2 separate regions of the Homo sapiens genome follow, and region 2 is linked to region 1. The links are contacts of gene promoters, found by promoter capture Hi-C in human tissues and cell types (Jung and others, 2019). All regions are on one chromosome and are shown on one strand. The core of a region is centred on a gene start or on the middle of the fragment in contact, and the rest is flanking DNA. Distances in the headings are between cores, read along the strand shown.

Region 1 (7,853 bases), core at 2,997-5,496:
ACAGAAAGTCAACAAGGATACCCAGGAATTGAACTCAGCTCTGCACCAAGCAGACCTAATAGACATCTACAGAACTCTCCACCCCAAATCAACAGAATATACATTTTTTTCAGCACCACACCACACCTATTCCAAAATTGACCACATAGTTGGAAGTAAAGCTCTCCTCAGCAAATGTAAAAGAACAGAAATTATAACAAACTGTCTCTCAGACCACAGTGCAATCAAACTAGAACTCAGGATTAAGAATCTCACTCAAAGCCGCTCAACTACATGGAAACTGAACAACCTGCTCCTGAATGACTACTGGGTACATAACGAAATGAAGGCAGAAATAAAGATGTTCTTTGAAACCAACGAGAACAAAGACACCACATACCAGAATCTCTGGGACGCATTCAAAGCAGTGTGTAGAGGGAAATTTATAGCACTAAATGCCTACAAGAGAAAGCAGGAAAGATCCAAAATTGACACCCTAACATCACAATTAAAAGAACTAGAAAAGCAAGAGCAAACACATTCAAAAGCTAGCAGAAGGCAAGAAATAACTAAAATCAGAGCAGAACTGAAGGAAATAGAGACACAAAAAACCCTTCAAAAAATCAATGAATCCAGGAGCTGGTTTTTTGAAAGGATCAACAAAATTGATAGACCGCTAGCAAGACTAATAAAGAAAAAAAGAGAGAAGAATCAAATAGACACAATAAAAAATGATAAAGGGGATATCACCACCAATCCCACAGAAATACAAACTACCATCAGAGAATACTACAAACACCTCTACGCAAATAAACTAGAAAATCTAGAAGAAATGGATACATTCCTCGACACATACACTCTCCCAAGACTAAACCAGGAAGAAGTTGAATCTCTGAATAGACCAATAACAGGATCTGAAATTGTGGCAATAATCAATAGTTTACCAACCAAAAAGAGTCCAGGACCAGATGGATTCACAGCCGAATTCTACCAGAGGTACAAGGAGGAACTGGTACCATTCCTTCTGAAACTATTCCAATCAATAGAAAAAGAGGGAATCCTCCCTAACTCATTTTATGAGGCCAGCATCATTCTGATACCAAAGCCAGGCAGAGACACAACCAAAAAAGAGAATTTTAGACCAATATCCTTGATGAACATTGATGCAAAAATCCTCAATAAAATACTGGCAAACCGAATCCAGCAGCACATCAAAAAGCTTATCCACCATGATCAAGTGGGCTTCATCCCTGGGATGCAAGGCTGGTTCAATATACGCAAATCAATAAATGTAATCCAGCATATAAACAGAGCCAAAGACAAAAACCACATGATTATCTCAATAGATGCAGAAAAGGCCTTTGACAAAATTCAACAACCCTTCATGCTAAAAACTCTCAATAAATTAGGTATTGATGGGACGTATTTCAAAATAATAAGAGCTATCTATGACAAACCCACAGCCAATATCATACTGAATGGGCAAAAACTGGAAGCATTCCCTTTGAAAACTGGCACAAGACAGGGATGCCCTCTCTCACCGCTCCTATTCAACATAGTGTTGGAAGTTCTGGCCAGGGCAATCAGGCAGGAGAAGGAAATAAAGGGTATTCAATTAGGAAAAGAGGAAGTCAAATTGTCCCTGTTTGCAGACGACATGATTGTTTATGTAGAAAACCCCATCGTCTCAGCCCAAAATCTCCTTAAGCTGATAAGCAACTTCAGCAAAGTCTCAGGATACAAAATCAATGTACAAAAATCACAAGCATTCTTATACACCAACAACAGACAAACAGAGAGCCAAATCATGGGTGAACTCCCATTCACAATTGCTTCAAAGAGAATAAAATACCTAGGAATCCAACTTACAAGGGATGTGAAGGACCTCTTCAAGGAGAACTACAAACCACTGCTCAAGGAAATAAAAGAGGACACAAACAAATGGAAGAACATTCCATGCTCATGGGTAGGAAGAATCAATATCGTGAAAATGGCCATACTGCCCAAGGTAATTTATAGATTCAATGCCATCCCCATCAAGCTACCAATGACTTTCTTCACAGAATTGGAAAAAACTACTTTAAAGTTCATATGGAACCAAAAAAGAGCCCGCATTGCCAAGTCAATCCTAAGCCAAAAGAACAAAGCTGGAGGCATCACACTACCTGACTTCAAACTATACTACAAGGCTACAGTAACCAAAACAGCATGGTACTGGTACCAAAACAGAGATATAGATCAATGGAACACAACAGAGCCCTCAGAAATAATGCCGCATATCTACAACTATCTGATCTTTGACAAACCTGAGAAAAACAAGCAATGGGGAAAGGATTCCCTATTTAATAAATGGTGCTGGGAAAACTGGCTAGCCATATGTAGAAAGCTGAAACTGGATCCCTTCCTTACACCTTATACAAAAATCAATTCAAGATGGATTAAAGATTTAAACGTTAAACCTAAAACCATAAAAACCCTAGAAGAAAACCTAGGCATTACCATTCAGGACATAGGCGTGGGCAAGGACTTCATGTCCAAAACACCAAAAGCAATGGCAACAAAAGACAAAATTGACAAATGAGATCTAATTAAACTAAAGAGCTTCTGCACAGCAAAAGAAACTACCATCAGAGTGAACAGGCAACCTACAACATGGGAGAAAATTTTCGCATCCTACTCATCTGACAAAGGGCTAATATCCAGAATCTACAATGAACTCAAACAAATTTACAAGAAAAAAACAAACAACCCCATCAAAAAGTGGGCGAAGGACATGAACAGACACTTCTCAAAAGAAGACATTTATGCAGCCAAAAAACACATGAAGAAATGCTCATCATCACTGGCCATCAGAGAAATGCAAATCAAAACCACTATGAGATATCATCTCACACCAGTTAGAATGGCAATCATTAAAAAGTCAGGAAACAACAGGTGCTGGAGAGGATGTGGAGAAATAGGAACACTTTTACACTGTTGGTGGGACTGTAAACTAGTTCAACCATTGTGGAAGTCAGTGTGGCGATTCCTCAGGGATCTAGAACTAGAAATACCATTTGACCCAGCCATCCCATTACTGGGTATATACCCAAATGAGTATAAATCATGCTGCTATAAAGACACATGCACACGTATGTTTATTGCGGCACTATTCACAATAGCAAAGACTTGGAACCAACCCAAATGTCCAACAATGATAGACTGGATTAAGAAAATGTGGCACATATACACCATGGAATACTATGCAGCCATAAAAAATGATGAGTTCATATCCTTTGTAGGGACATGGATGAAATTGGAAACCATCATTCTCAGTAAACTATCGCAAGAACAAAAAACCAAACACCGCATATTCTCACTCATAGATGGGAATTGAACAATGAGATCACATGGACACAGGAAGGGGAATATCACACTCTGGGGACTGTGGTGGGGTTGGGGGAGGGGGGAGGGATAGTATTGGGAGATATACCTAATGCTAGATGACACATTAGTGGGTGCAGCGCACCAGCATGGCACATGTATACATATGTAACTAACCTGCACAATGTGCACATGTACCCTAAAACTTAGAGTATAATAAAAAAAATAAAATAAAATAAAATAAAAATAAATGAAAAAAAAAAAAACAAAAAACAAAAAAAGAAAAAAAAAAAAAAAAGACCCAAACAGGCCAATAACTATTAGTTATTATCTCTACTGAAAAAGTGGGACTTCCTGTTATGAATAAGGGAACTAACTGAATTCCCTGCTACCTAATTACCTTCTGTAGCTATACTTACTGACAAAAACACCATTAATTTTTTTAGATACCAATTTTTTTTAATACTATGAATCTTAAGGGAAAATGGCTTCACCTCAAAAATACTCTGTTACTTGCTTGGAAGATAGACGACTTTAAGCTGATGCTGATAAACTTGTGGCTTCCAAAGTTTTCCTTACTAATTCTAAACCCAAAAGGTGCCTGGCAGTCTCTGCTATGTCTGTTTCAAGTAACCCTAGCTCTATATCAGGAGACATTTTCCTTATAAACAGAAACATGGTAAATCTTAAGTTCCCTGCAATTGAAATGCTTGGCTGTGAATTTGATTTCATAATCAGAGCGGACTCTATAGTCTTTTCATTCAATATTCCTGCAATTAGATAACCAATCGCAGCCTAGAAACAACCTCCAAGGAGACCCAGTGACATTGCTCCCATAGTTGATGCAACAATCACCATGATGACCCAAGCTTTAATCACTCTGATGAACACTGCTCTCCTGCCTAGAGATACCACTGAGTCCAGAAGCAAGACCTGTGAGAGTGCACAGTGCCACTTCGCCCCATGGCTGAAGATGGTTTGCCCAAAATTTATTCTCATCCTCCAACAGAAAGCAGTAAAACACCAACTGCAGCAACCATTTTCTTTGGGGCTGACAATGCTATTCCCAAATCAGAAACAACTATTACTTCAGAAGGAGACCACGTCACTTCAGTAAATGAATATATGCTAGAAAGCGATTTTTCAACAACTACAGACAACAAACTGACAGCTAAAAAGGAAAAACTCAAATCAGAAGATGATATGGGGACCGACTTTATTAAGTCAACAACTCACCTACAGAAAGAAATTACCTCTCTGACTGGCACTACAAACTCCATAACAAGAGACTCTATTACCGAACATTTCATGCCAGTGAAAATTGGGAATATTTCATCACCAGTTACTACTGTTTCTTTAATAGATTTTTCCACTGACATAGCAAAAGAAGATATCCTCTTAGCTACCATTGACACAGGAGATGCAGAGATCTCAATAACCTCTGAAGTCTCTGGCACACTAAAGGACAGCAGTGCTGGTGTTGCTGACGCTCCTGCCTTTCCACGTAAAAAGGATGAAGCTGATATGAGCAATTATAATTCCTCCATCAAATCCAATGTCCCTGCTGATGAGGCTGTCCAGGTCACTGATTCCACTATTCCTGAGGCTGAAATCCCTCCTGCTCCTGAAGAAAGCTTCACTACTATTCCAGACATAACTGCCCTTGAAGAAGAGAAAATAACCGAAATTGACCTAAGTGTTTTAGAAGATGACACCAGTGCTGTGGCTACATTAACTGACTCTGATGAGAAGTTTATCACTGTGTTTGAACTCACTACCTCTGCTGAAAAAGACAAAGATAAACGGGAAGATACTCTGCTAACTGATGAAGAAACTACCGAGGGAGCCAGTATTTGGATGGAGAGAGATACTGCAAATGAAGCAGAGACCCATTCTGTTTTGCTTACTGCTGTTGAATCCAGATATGACTTCGTTGTCCCTGCATCAATAGCTACAAACCTAGTGGAAGAATCATCTACAGAAGAAGATTTGTCTGAAACTGATAATACAGAGACTGTACCTAAGATCACTGAGCCATTTTCTGGAACTACCTCTGTATTAGATACCCCAGACTATAAGGAAGACACCTCCACAACTGAAACGGATATCTTTGAACTACTGAAAGAAGAACCCGATGAGTTCATGATTTAAAAGCAACAAAAGGGATACCATGTAGAATTGTGCAATAGTCTAGCCAGCTAGCCTTAACATCTAAGAAATTTTTCCAACAAGCAAAAACCTTTAGAAATGAAAGAATGTGGGCATTTAAGGCAAGTATTCGACTCAATAAATGCAGATGCTTAGGACTACAGGTCATGTAACAGATTTACGGAAACTTAGAAAAAAAAACCGCAGTGTAAGGGTCCCCCTAGTATCACAAAGTTTCAATATTCTAACAATTACTTAATGTAAAATTTTTCGTCCTAGCCTTCAGGGAGTATGAAGACAGAGCAATGTAGGGGCTCATTTCTACAACATTTAATGATGCATATCATTTAGTTAACAGTCAATATTATACTTAAGTGAGAATTAAGGATATGAAGAGAAGCAAATTAACCTCTCCAAAACATTACCATAGCCTAAAAAGTTCTCCCAAAATGCTTGTTCTAAGCAATTTTTTCATTAGTATTTCATCAGTGATTCTCTTCTATTTAAAAAATTTTTAATCCTCATATAAGAATTAAGACAATTCAGTAATTGTTTAGCACCCACATGTAAGATACATAAGATTTATGATAGGGTTCTTGGCACATGTTAGATACAAACTAAAGCAAAATGATATTTTACAAATATGCATATTTGTCAGAAAAATGTTCTGTAAACATATACATCAATTTAATTTTCTTTCTGTTAAAATGTGTTTTCTGAATTTTTGTCCATGTTTTCCAGGTCTTAAACACTGAATATCACACTCTTCTTATGACTCTTGTTAGCGATTCAAGGACATAAATCTTCATTCTTTTCTGGCACAGACTACTTAAATGGGTCTGTTTTCACTTTGCTCATTTTTCTTCAATAAATCTTTTTGGCAAGCAACTGATTTACTGTGTGTAGGTGTGTTTGATATTCTACTACAGACTTCTCAAATTAGGAGAAATAAAGAGAAATGAAAATTCATTGTTTGTTTAAAGAATAATATAGCTCTAATCCCCAGAAGTAAAATTATTCTATAGAGATTCATAATTGTATTACACTAAAAAAAGAAATAAGAACAATGCCAAAACACCAAGTGAATGAAAGATATTATGTACGGGGGGTTTGTATAGGGATTTGCACCATTAGATAAACTATAGACTAGAATAATCACAACAGTGTGTTAAAACCCAGAAACAAATTACGAAACAAAAATTTGTTATACAGTGAAGTGGACTTCAAAAACATGGGATATAATAGTTAATCTTACTTGAACAATCAGTATTTGGGAAAAAAATATGTTGGAATAATAAACAAATTTTTAAATTCTTTTTAAGACCATACTTTAAAATAAATTCTACATGGATTAAATACTTTAATGTAAAAACTAAAACCATACAAAAACTTAGGAGGAAATGTACCTGTATATCTATCCAAATGGACCTGAGAAATGTAAGCATATATGAAAAGGTGATAAGAAGATTGATAGGTTTGACACCATGAATAGTTAAAATTCTGAAACAAAGAAAATTAACATAAAATTAAAAAGTAAATAACTAATTTTATTTTACATAGCAGTGAAAAGATTACTATCATTTTTCTATAAAAGTTTCTACAAAGTATTTTAAATGAACAGTAGAAATTAACATAATTCATGAAACACAAATTGTTAATGAACATGTGAAAAATATTCAATAGACATATTCAAAAAATTAAAATAAAGCTAGTACACATCAGTTTTAGCCATTTGAGGATTGACAGTGATTATTGTACATATTCATTGTTGACTCATTTTCCAAACTTTCTCCAAATTTCTCCAGCCTTTCTGGAAGGCTGGAAGCCAATTTGGCAATACATGTAGCAAGCATTTTAAAAATTGGAAGTTTTGGCCCAGTTATTTTACATATTTTACATATTTTAGCCCTGAGAATTTTCCTAAGAATCAGAAACTATTAAAGTTCCAGCAGTTATTGAGCTCTGACTACTGGTCAGCATAGTTGTGTTTATATTTAGAATAACATTTGATCCTCATGATACCCTAGAAGGAGAAACATTACTATTCTCATTTTAGTGATAAGGAAACAGAAAAGCTACTCAACATGCACCAAGCTTCAAAGTTAATATGTAGCAAAGAACGCTTCTAACCCAGGCAGTCTTCATCCAGAACCCATGCTCTTTTAATCACTATACTGTAGGGGCCCTCAGATTTAAATACAAGAATGTTGGCAAACTCTTACACTGAAGAATGTGATTTTACATGTTCATAAGGGAAAAACACTGAAAACAATCTACAATTGTAGTCACATGTAATTAATTACACTTCTGTATACCCATATGAAGCCATAGCTTGCATCTTTTAAAATGGTTCTAAGGAAGAA
Region 2 (7,853 bases), core at 3,985-6,484, 42 kb before region 1:
TTGCGGCATTATTCACAATAGCAAAGACCTGGAACCAACCCAAATGTCCAACAATGATAGACTGGATCAAGAAAATGTGGCACATATACACCATGGAATACTATGCAGCCATAAAAAATGATGAGTTCATGTCCTTTGTAGGGACATGGATGAAATTGGAAATCATCATTCTCAGTAAACTATCGCAAGAACAAAAAACCAAACACCGCATATTCTCCCTCATAGGTGGGAATTGAACAATGAGATCACATGGACTCAGGAAGGGGAACATCACACTCTGGGGACTGTTGTGGGGTGGGGGGAGGGGGGAGGGATAGCATTGGGAGATATACCTAATGCTAGATGACGAGTTAGTGGGTGCAGCGCACCAGCATGGCACATGTATACATATGTAACTAACCTGCACAATGTGCACATGTACCCTAAAACTTAAAGTTAATAAAAAAAAAAAAAGAAAGGAATGCGGTCTGCTGAGACCTTTGTTTTAGTCTGTTAAAACTCACACTAGACTTGTGACTTTAAGAACTATAACGTGATAAATTTCTGTTTGTGATCATTTGTTATGGCAGAACAGAAAACTAATCAGTAAAGTTTCATATTTTTCAGTGTGGAGCTTTAACATATTTCATTAGATTTAGTAGGTATTTGATTTTTATATTAGAAATGATAATTATTTTTAAATTTTATATTTTCATTGCTGATGTATAGAAATATCATTGATTTCATATGTTGACCATGTAATATAGTGATGCTTAGTAATGCTGATAATTTTCTTGTACATTTCTCTAAATCTTTTACAGACACAAACCTGCTGTCTGCAAATTATGAGAATTTTAGTTTTGTTCACTCTTTTTTTCTTAATTCCTTACTGCTCTAGCTAGGACCTCCACTACAATATTTTGCAGATGTGGCCATCAAGCATCTACTGTCATGCAGCAATAGATAAATAATACAAAATTTGGTATTTAGAAGTATACAAATACTCAGAAATGTGGAAGTGGCTTTGAAACCAGGCAGTGAATAAAGGCTGGAAGTATGTTAAGAAGCATGTTAGAGAAATCCTAAATTGCCTTGAGCAGACTTGCAGTAGAAAAGTATGGACTTTAAGGTCGCTGCTGGTGATAGGTCAGAAGAAAGTGAGGTACATGTTATTGGAAACTGGAGAGGTATCTTTGTTTCCTGAAGCTACTGGGAAAGAAGAAAATGTACCTAGTGAACTGCATGATCTAGATAAGATTTCCAAAGCATTAAAAGTATGTCTGGCTTCTTCTTGCTGCTGATAATAAAATGCAAAAGGACAGAAGTAAATTATAAACTGAGGGACAAACTGTTAAAAGGAGTTGGATTTAATTGTTTTGAAAATTCTCAGCCTCTCTTGACAGCAAGATATGCTGGATTTATGAAATGGCTTCCAAAGTTCAAATTAAAGGCACTGTCGGGAACATATGACCTAGCTGTAAAGCCAAGGGTATGCCTTTAATATTTGTTAAGACCTCAGGAAGCTCAAAGTTACTACAAAGTACTATTCAGTTACACAAAGAATGCTTTGTAAGATATATATATATATATATCATATATATATTTGTTTTCCTTTCAAATTTTCTACTATCAAATCATTTTACACTGCTCTGTTTTCCTAAACTTGACACCTTAAGACAGATGAGTAAGCTGGCCTCAAACTCCCTTCTCTCATTATTGGATATAAATCACATGTCAGAAATTCTCCTACTTTTTAAAAATCAACCTAACAGAAATACATCTAGGGTCATATTAAAATACCCAATAATTTGATAAGAATACTTTCAGGTATTCAACATTTTATTTCAACTTGATTGGTGTTTAAATAAGAAATAGCTAATAATCTCTTTTCTCCATATAAATAGCATGTTAATAAACAATGCATTTTATTTTTGATAACAAGAAGCTTGGTCTACTTTCCTAAAACTTGCTAAATGTACTTGAGTTCACATTGGAGAAGACAAGAATAATTTTTATATAAACATTAAGCTTATAATGTTATATGATAAAAAGTCCATATAAGGACCTTTCTTAAACAATTGTTAAATTTAAACTCAAATTTGGGGAATATGCACACCAAAGTCCTTAGCTGCTGACATTCTTTCTACTACATTCCAATATTCAATCAAAATAAAAAGATAAGTTGGAACGCCTAAGATAATTTTGACTTCATAAAGAAGAGTATGTGTTTAGTGTAAAAGAGAAAGGAGGCAAATTTTATTATGAATCAAAACAGTATGACAGTAGACGTATACATAATTTTGTTAACTTTAAAGTGATTACCTCAATTCTCAGAAAAAACAACATTGCATATTGTTGTTGCACAGCACTTATTATAATATCGATTATCACGCAGGCACTCAGTGATTTAAGTGCAGCCAAGCTCTGACTTCTGATCTTTGTGAAGTTCTTGGAAAAAACGGTGAATGAAGAAAGTTTGTCCAAAAGAAATGGCTGAGTGGAAGCATACTTGCTCTGTTAATCAGAGTTCAATCGATCACAGCCACTCTTTTTTGTTGGTTATACCTCTTTCCAATAAATCATTATACCCTCACGGCAGGAACTGGGCCTGTCTTGTTTCCTATTGAATCCACAATGCCTGCTAAAAAAAAATGAATACTCAGTAAATATCTATTGAATGAATAAATAAAAGTTGTCATTCCAAATTCAGGAATTATGAGTTAAAAAATTACATTAAATATATCTATAAATAAAAAATTATTGGGAAAATTCAACGCACAAGTTAAAGCTTAATATTTTTATGTAGTGCTACAGAGTTTGCAAAGCATTTCTGTGAGTATTCTAATTGAATTTGACATCAACTTATTCCAGTAAATAGTAAATTAATTATTCTCTTTTTATAGATGAGAAACATAGCATTTATATATAAGTTAACCAAGCTCACATAGTAATAAAATGACAGAGCTGAGAGTCAAACCTGGGCATTTTGAACTCAAGTTCAGTGCTCCTTTTTGTTATTCTAGGAATGCCTTGCAAAAGTTTTTGCTTTTCTTGTTCTTAAGTACACTGGTGATTTCTCACAGCTATAGTTGTTCAGAACCAGCACACGTACCATTGTTCTGCTGTGTAGTATAACATAGATGAATATGTGAAAATAATAAATAAATCACTATGGAATTAGAAAAACTATTATGCCCAGTGAAAATTACCTGCATTTCTCAGATGCATGGCCACAGCAATTGAAAAAGTATTCAGAAAGTAGATTAGTAGATAATGTAATGCACGGTCTCCAAAATTTGGGAGATTCTAAGTCCACTGGGTTGTGAGGAGTTGGAATGGGGGTGCAGTTGGGTAGACACATTTCACAAATTCCCCTAACATAGGAACATTGGGCTTAAGTGCTTAAATATGTTTAACCTGATGGAGAAAACATTATTGATATCCTCTTATTAAGTTATTGCAAATATTGGTTTATTCTTCAATCTATTAAACTTTAGAATATTGAGGAAAACTATAAAAATGTACTTGAACAATTTCCAAAAATTCTGAGACATTTCACAATATATATGTCATTCTATAACTGTAAATAAGAAATTGAACCATTGTTTTCTTAAGATGAGTAATAAACATAGAAGCCATAGTGTTAATTTATGAAGTTTCTTAATTATCAGATTTAACTATTGCTCTTTCCAAGTAAAAGATGAGATATGTTAACTTGGATAGGATGCTGCTAATGAAGATGATCAGAGGTGAACTGATTCAAAACACTATCTAGGAAGTAAAATGTAGAGAGGCTCTAGTGACTGATGGACATGGGAGGATAAGAAGAAAAGTCAAGACTGACTCAGGATTCCAGATTATACTACTAGGTAAATAGCATACCATCTACTGAAAGGGGGAACACAGGAAGACATTCTATTTTGTGGGGAAATATCATGATGTAAACTGATTCAGTTCAGACTCAGAGAAAAACACCAAGTGGTTTCAAAGTTTTCTGATTATGGTTCTAAAATGGATCTGTTGGCACCAAGGCCAGTGAAACTGATGACCCTACCATCACTGTCACAAGCTACATGCTCTCAGAGATTTTGTGAAACTTATTTATATTGAGTTTCCCTAAGTTAACTACAGACCACTTTTACTTTCCCTTTTTCTTTCACAAAATTCTGGTGCCAGAAGCCGTTTGTTCTGTGTACTTGTCTTAATAATCTGGCACCATGGAAACAGTGTCCATTTTCCACCAATACTACTGTCATATTAGGAAATCAACGTTGTGTTCCTCAGAATTAGACTAGCACAGGTCAGAAATAGGTTTGATTATTCAATATATTTATTGCAATTTGTAGGTCGTCTAACAATGATGACTTATCAATAAGAAAAGTATGGGCCAGGCACGGTGGCTCACACCTGTAATCCCAGCACTTTGGGAGGCGGAGGTAGGCTGATCACTGGAGATCAGGAATTGGAGAAGAGTCTGGCCAACATGGCGGAACCCTATCTAAAAATACAAAAATTAGCCAGGTGTGGTAGCGGCTGTCTGTAACTGCAGCTATTGAGGAGGCTGAGGCATGAGAATCGCTTGAACCCGGGAGGCGGAGGTTGCAGTGAGCCGAGATCATGCCACTGCACTGCAGCCTGGGTGAGAGAGTGAGACTCCATCTCCCAAAAAAAAAATAAAATAAAATAAGGTTTTATAAAATATTTTCAGAAGAACATGCATAGCATCCTATAGACTAAAAATTATAAACTAGATAGAAGAAGAAAGGAAAACTCAAATAATATCACAGAATCTTAGAATCTCATGGAACCTGTTCTTGGAACATAATAATACATAGTACACCATGTCATACATCATACATATAGGAGTTGAGTTCTATAAAGCTGACCCCTGAATTTAATAGCACACTATGTACCTTCCTAGAACTCTCTATCCCACAACCACTGGGATTATCCTAAATGATGGGAGTTGGGAGGGGATGGCAAGTGGGATGTGTGTGGCACTGAGTGGGTACTGGGTGGGTGAAGAACTTCTTAGTTATGTACAATTCCTAATCAAAGATGAAATGCTTTCTTCGGGTAAGAATTTAAATAAAAATATTAATCTCATTAGCAAACTGAATGGGAAAACCTAATTTTTTAGTAATTGCAAAGAATGATGATATTTTCAAAAAATGTATCTGTTAAGTTTTAATTTCGTATCCACATTTTAAGTTTAACTTCAGAAAAATATTTTTTCTTTATTCTTAAAATACCAGTGAAATTTGTATTTGGTATCACCTAGCAGTTTGGTTAAATTCATTCTCTCACCATTTATTCTTGGTAGATTGTATGTCTAGGAATTTATTGATTTCTACTAGGTTATTCAATCTTTTGGCATAATTTGTTCATAGTAATCTCTTATGATCTTTTTATTTCTATGGTATTCATTGTAATGTCTCATCTTTTATTTCTAATTTTATGTATATGAGTCTTCTTTCTTTTCTAAGTTAATCTAGATAAAGTTTTGTCTATTTTATCTTATTAAAAAACCAACTCAGTTTCATTGATCCTTTGCAATAGAGATCTTTTGGATTCTCTATTTCATTTATTTCTGCTCTGATCTTTATTATTTTTTTCTTATTCTAATTTTGGGCTTAGTTTTTTCTTTTTCTAGTTCCTTGAGGAGTTAAGTTTTTTACTTGAAGTCCTCTTTTTTATTGATATAGGCATTTATTGCTATAAATGTTCCTCTTAAAACTTTTTCTACAACCCATACGTTTTGGTATGTTGTGTTTTTATTTTTGTTTGTCTCAAGATTTTTTTTAATTTCTTGATTATTTCATTGGTTGTCCCATAGCATGATGTTTAATTTTCATGTATTTGTGAATTTTCCAAAATTCCTCCTGTTATTGATTTCTCATTTAGTTTCATACCATTGTGGCTGGGAAAGATACTTTATATAATTTCAATCTTCTTAAATTTTCTAAGACTTGTTTTATGGCATATGATCTATCCTGGAGAATGCTCTATGCATGCTTGAGAAGAATTGTGTACTGTTGCTGTTGGATGAAATGTTCTGTATATGCCTGTTAGGTTGATTTGGTCTGAAGTGTTGTTCAAGTCCAATAATTTTTTATTTATTTGACCTAGACAATCTGTCCGTTGTTGAAAGTGGGGTATTAAGGTTAGAATTTGTATCATTTTATAATGTATATCCCTTGACAATTTATTTTAGCTATAGTTGTTATTAATAATTTTGTCTTTTAACACTCACACTGGTGAAATAATTGTTTTATGGACTACCATTACAGTCTCATGGTATTTTTAATGTGGCTCTACATTATTTATACCATTGAGTTTTGTGTTCTCATATGTTTTATGTTATTAACTAGTGGCCTTTTGTTTCAGCTTAAAGAACTCCCTTTAACAGTTTCTGTTAGGCTGACCTGGAGGTGATGAACTCCCTTAGCTATTGTTTGTCTGAGCAAGTTTTTATTTCTTCTTCATTTCTGAAAGACAGCTTTTCTGGGTAAATTATTCTTAATTGGCAGTTTTGCTTTTTTCCTCCAGCACTTTGAAAATATCATTACACTCTCTCCTGGCTTAAAGGATTTCTGCCAATAAATCCGCTAGTAGTTGTATTGTGACTCCTTTATACATGATATGTTTTTTATTTCTTGCTGCCATTAGAATTTTTTTATTGTCTTTGACAGTTTGATTACTAGTGTCTTGGTGAACTCTTTTTTGTGCTAAATTTAATTGGTGACTTCTATGCTTCTTTTACATGGATGTTGGCATCTATCCCCAGATTAAGGAAGTTTTCAGTCACTGTTTCTTTAAATCTGCTTTCTGGCCCTTTTTTTTTCTTTATTCTCCATCCTATTATGCCAAGTTTGGGTCTTCTTATGGTGTCCCATAATTCCCATAGACTTTCTTCATTCTTTTTTATTCTTTTGACTTTTTGGTCCTTTGATTGGATAATTTCAAATATTCTATCTTTAAGTTCACTGATTCTTTCTTCTGCTTGATTGAGTCTTCTATTGAAGCTTCCTATTGAATTTTTCCATTTAGTCTCCATCTATAGGATTTCTATTTGGCCTTTTTGTTGCTTATAATTTTGTCAAACTTCTCACTTTGTGTATGTTTTTCAATTTTTTTTAATTTTCTATGATATATTCTCGCAGTTCATTGAGCTTCTTTAAGAGGAGTATGGCAAATTCATCATCAGTTATTTAATAGATCTCTTTCTTTAGGGTCCATTATTGGAGTTTTATTAATTTTTTTGGCGGGGGGACTTACTATAATTCCTGAATTTTCATAATTCTTGTGTCCTTGCATTATTGTGTATGCAAATGAGGAGACAGCCACCTCTTCTGGCTTTTATGAGTGTTCCTTGGCAGGGATAGACTTTTACTATTTAGTTTAACCTGTGACTCTGAAGGGTCAGATGGTGACAATGCCAAGAAGGAAGTTTGTTGTGAATTATCTATTTGGCTGAACTGCTGTCTTTGTTCTGATGTTAGGTTGGGCTGCTGGCTGTGCCCCCACTCACTCAGAAGACCAGGCAAAGCTGATGGCTAGGTACTGTGATGGCATTTGGTCAAACTGAAAACAGGATGTATTCCCTGGTTGGGTGATTTGCTAGTTAAGACCTGTAGTTGGACAGATATACAGGCTGGGGTCCAAGGTTAGGCAAAGAGCTTTGAACATGTGGGACCAGAGGCTATTCTCCATAGAAATGCATGATTGAGCCTGTAATCCCAGCAATTTGAGAGGCCGAAGTGGGCAGATCACCTGACGTCAGGAGTTTGAGACCAGCCTGGCCAACATGGTGAAACCCATCTCTACTAAAAACACAAAAATTAGCTGGGTGTGGTGGCAGGCACCTGTAATAC

The links. The method cuts DNA at HindIII sites, captures the fragments that hold promoters and counts their contacts. A contact is called where the count stands out against the background at its distance.
Region 2: a contact is called between a fragment that was not itself captured here and the fragment with the promoter of CABS1 in region 1, in 2 of the 25 tissues and cell types used here (small bowel and thymus).

The regions. Positions count from the first base shown.
Region 1 is chr4:70,330,735-70,338,587 of GRCh38, forward strand. It overlaps CABS1 (calcium binding protein, spermatid associated 1), which reads left to right and starts at 4,247. Exons shown (of 2, transcript NM_033122.4): 1 at 4,247-5,612; 2 at 6,232-6,382. The coding sequence starts at 4,306. The coding sequence ends at 5,493. The HindIII fragment of the contact is 3,576 bases long and covers 2,705-6,280 here.
Region 2 is chr4:70,287,472-70,295,324 of GRCh38, forward strand. No RefSeq gene overlaps it. Among named protein-coding and RNA genes, the nearest start is that of CABS1, 44 kb to the right of the region's middle. The HindIII fragment of the contact is 6,538 bases long and covers 1,966-7,853 here.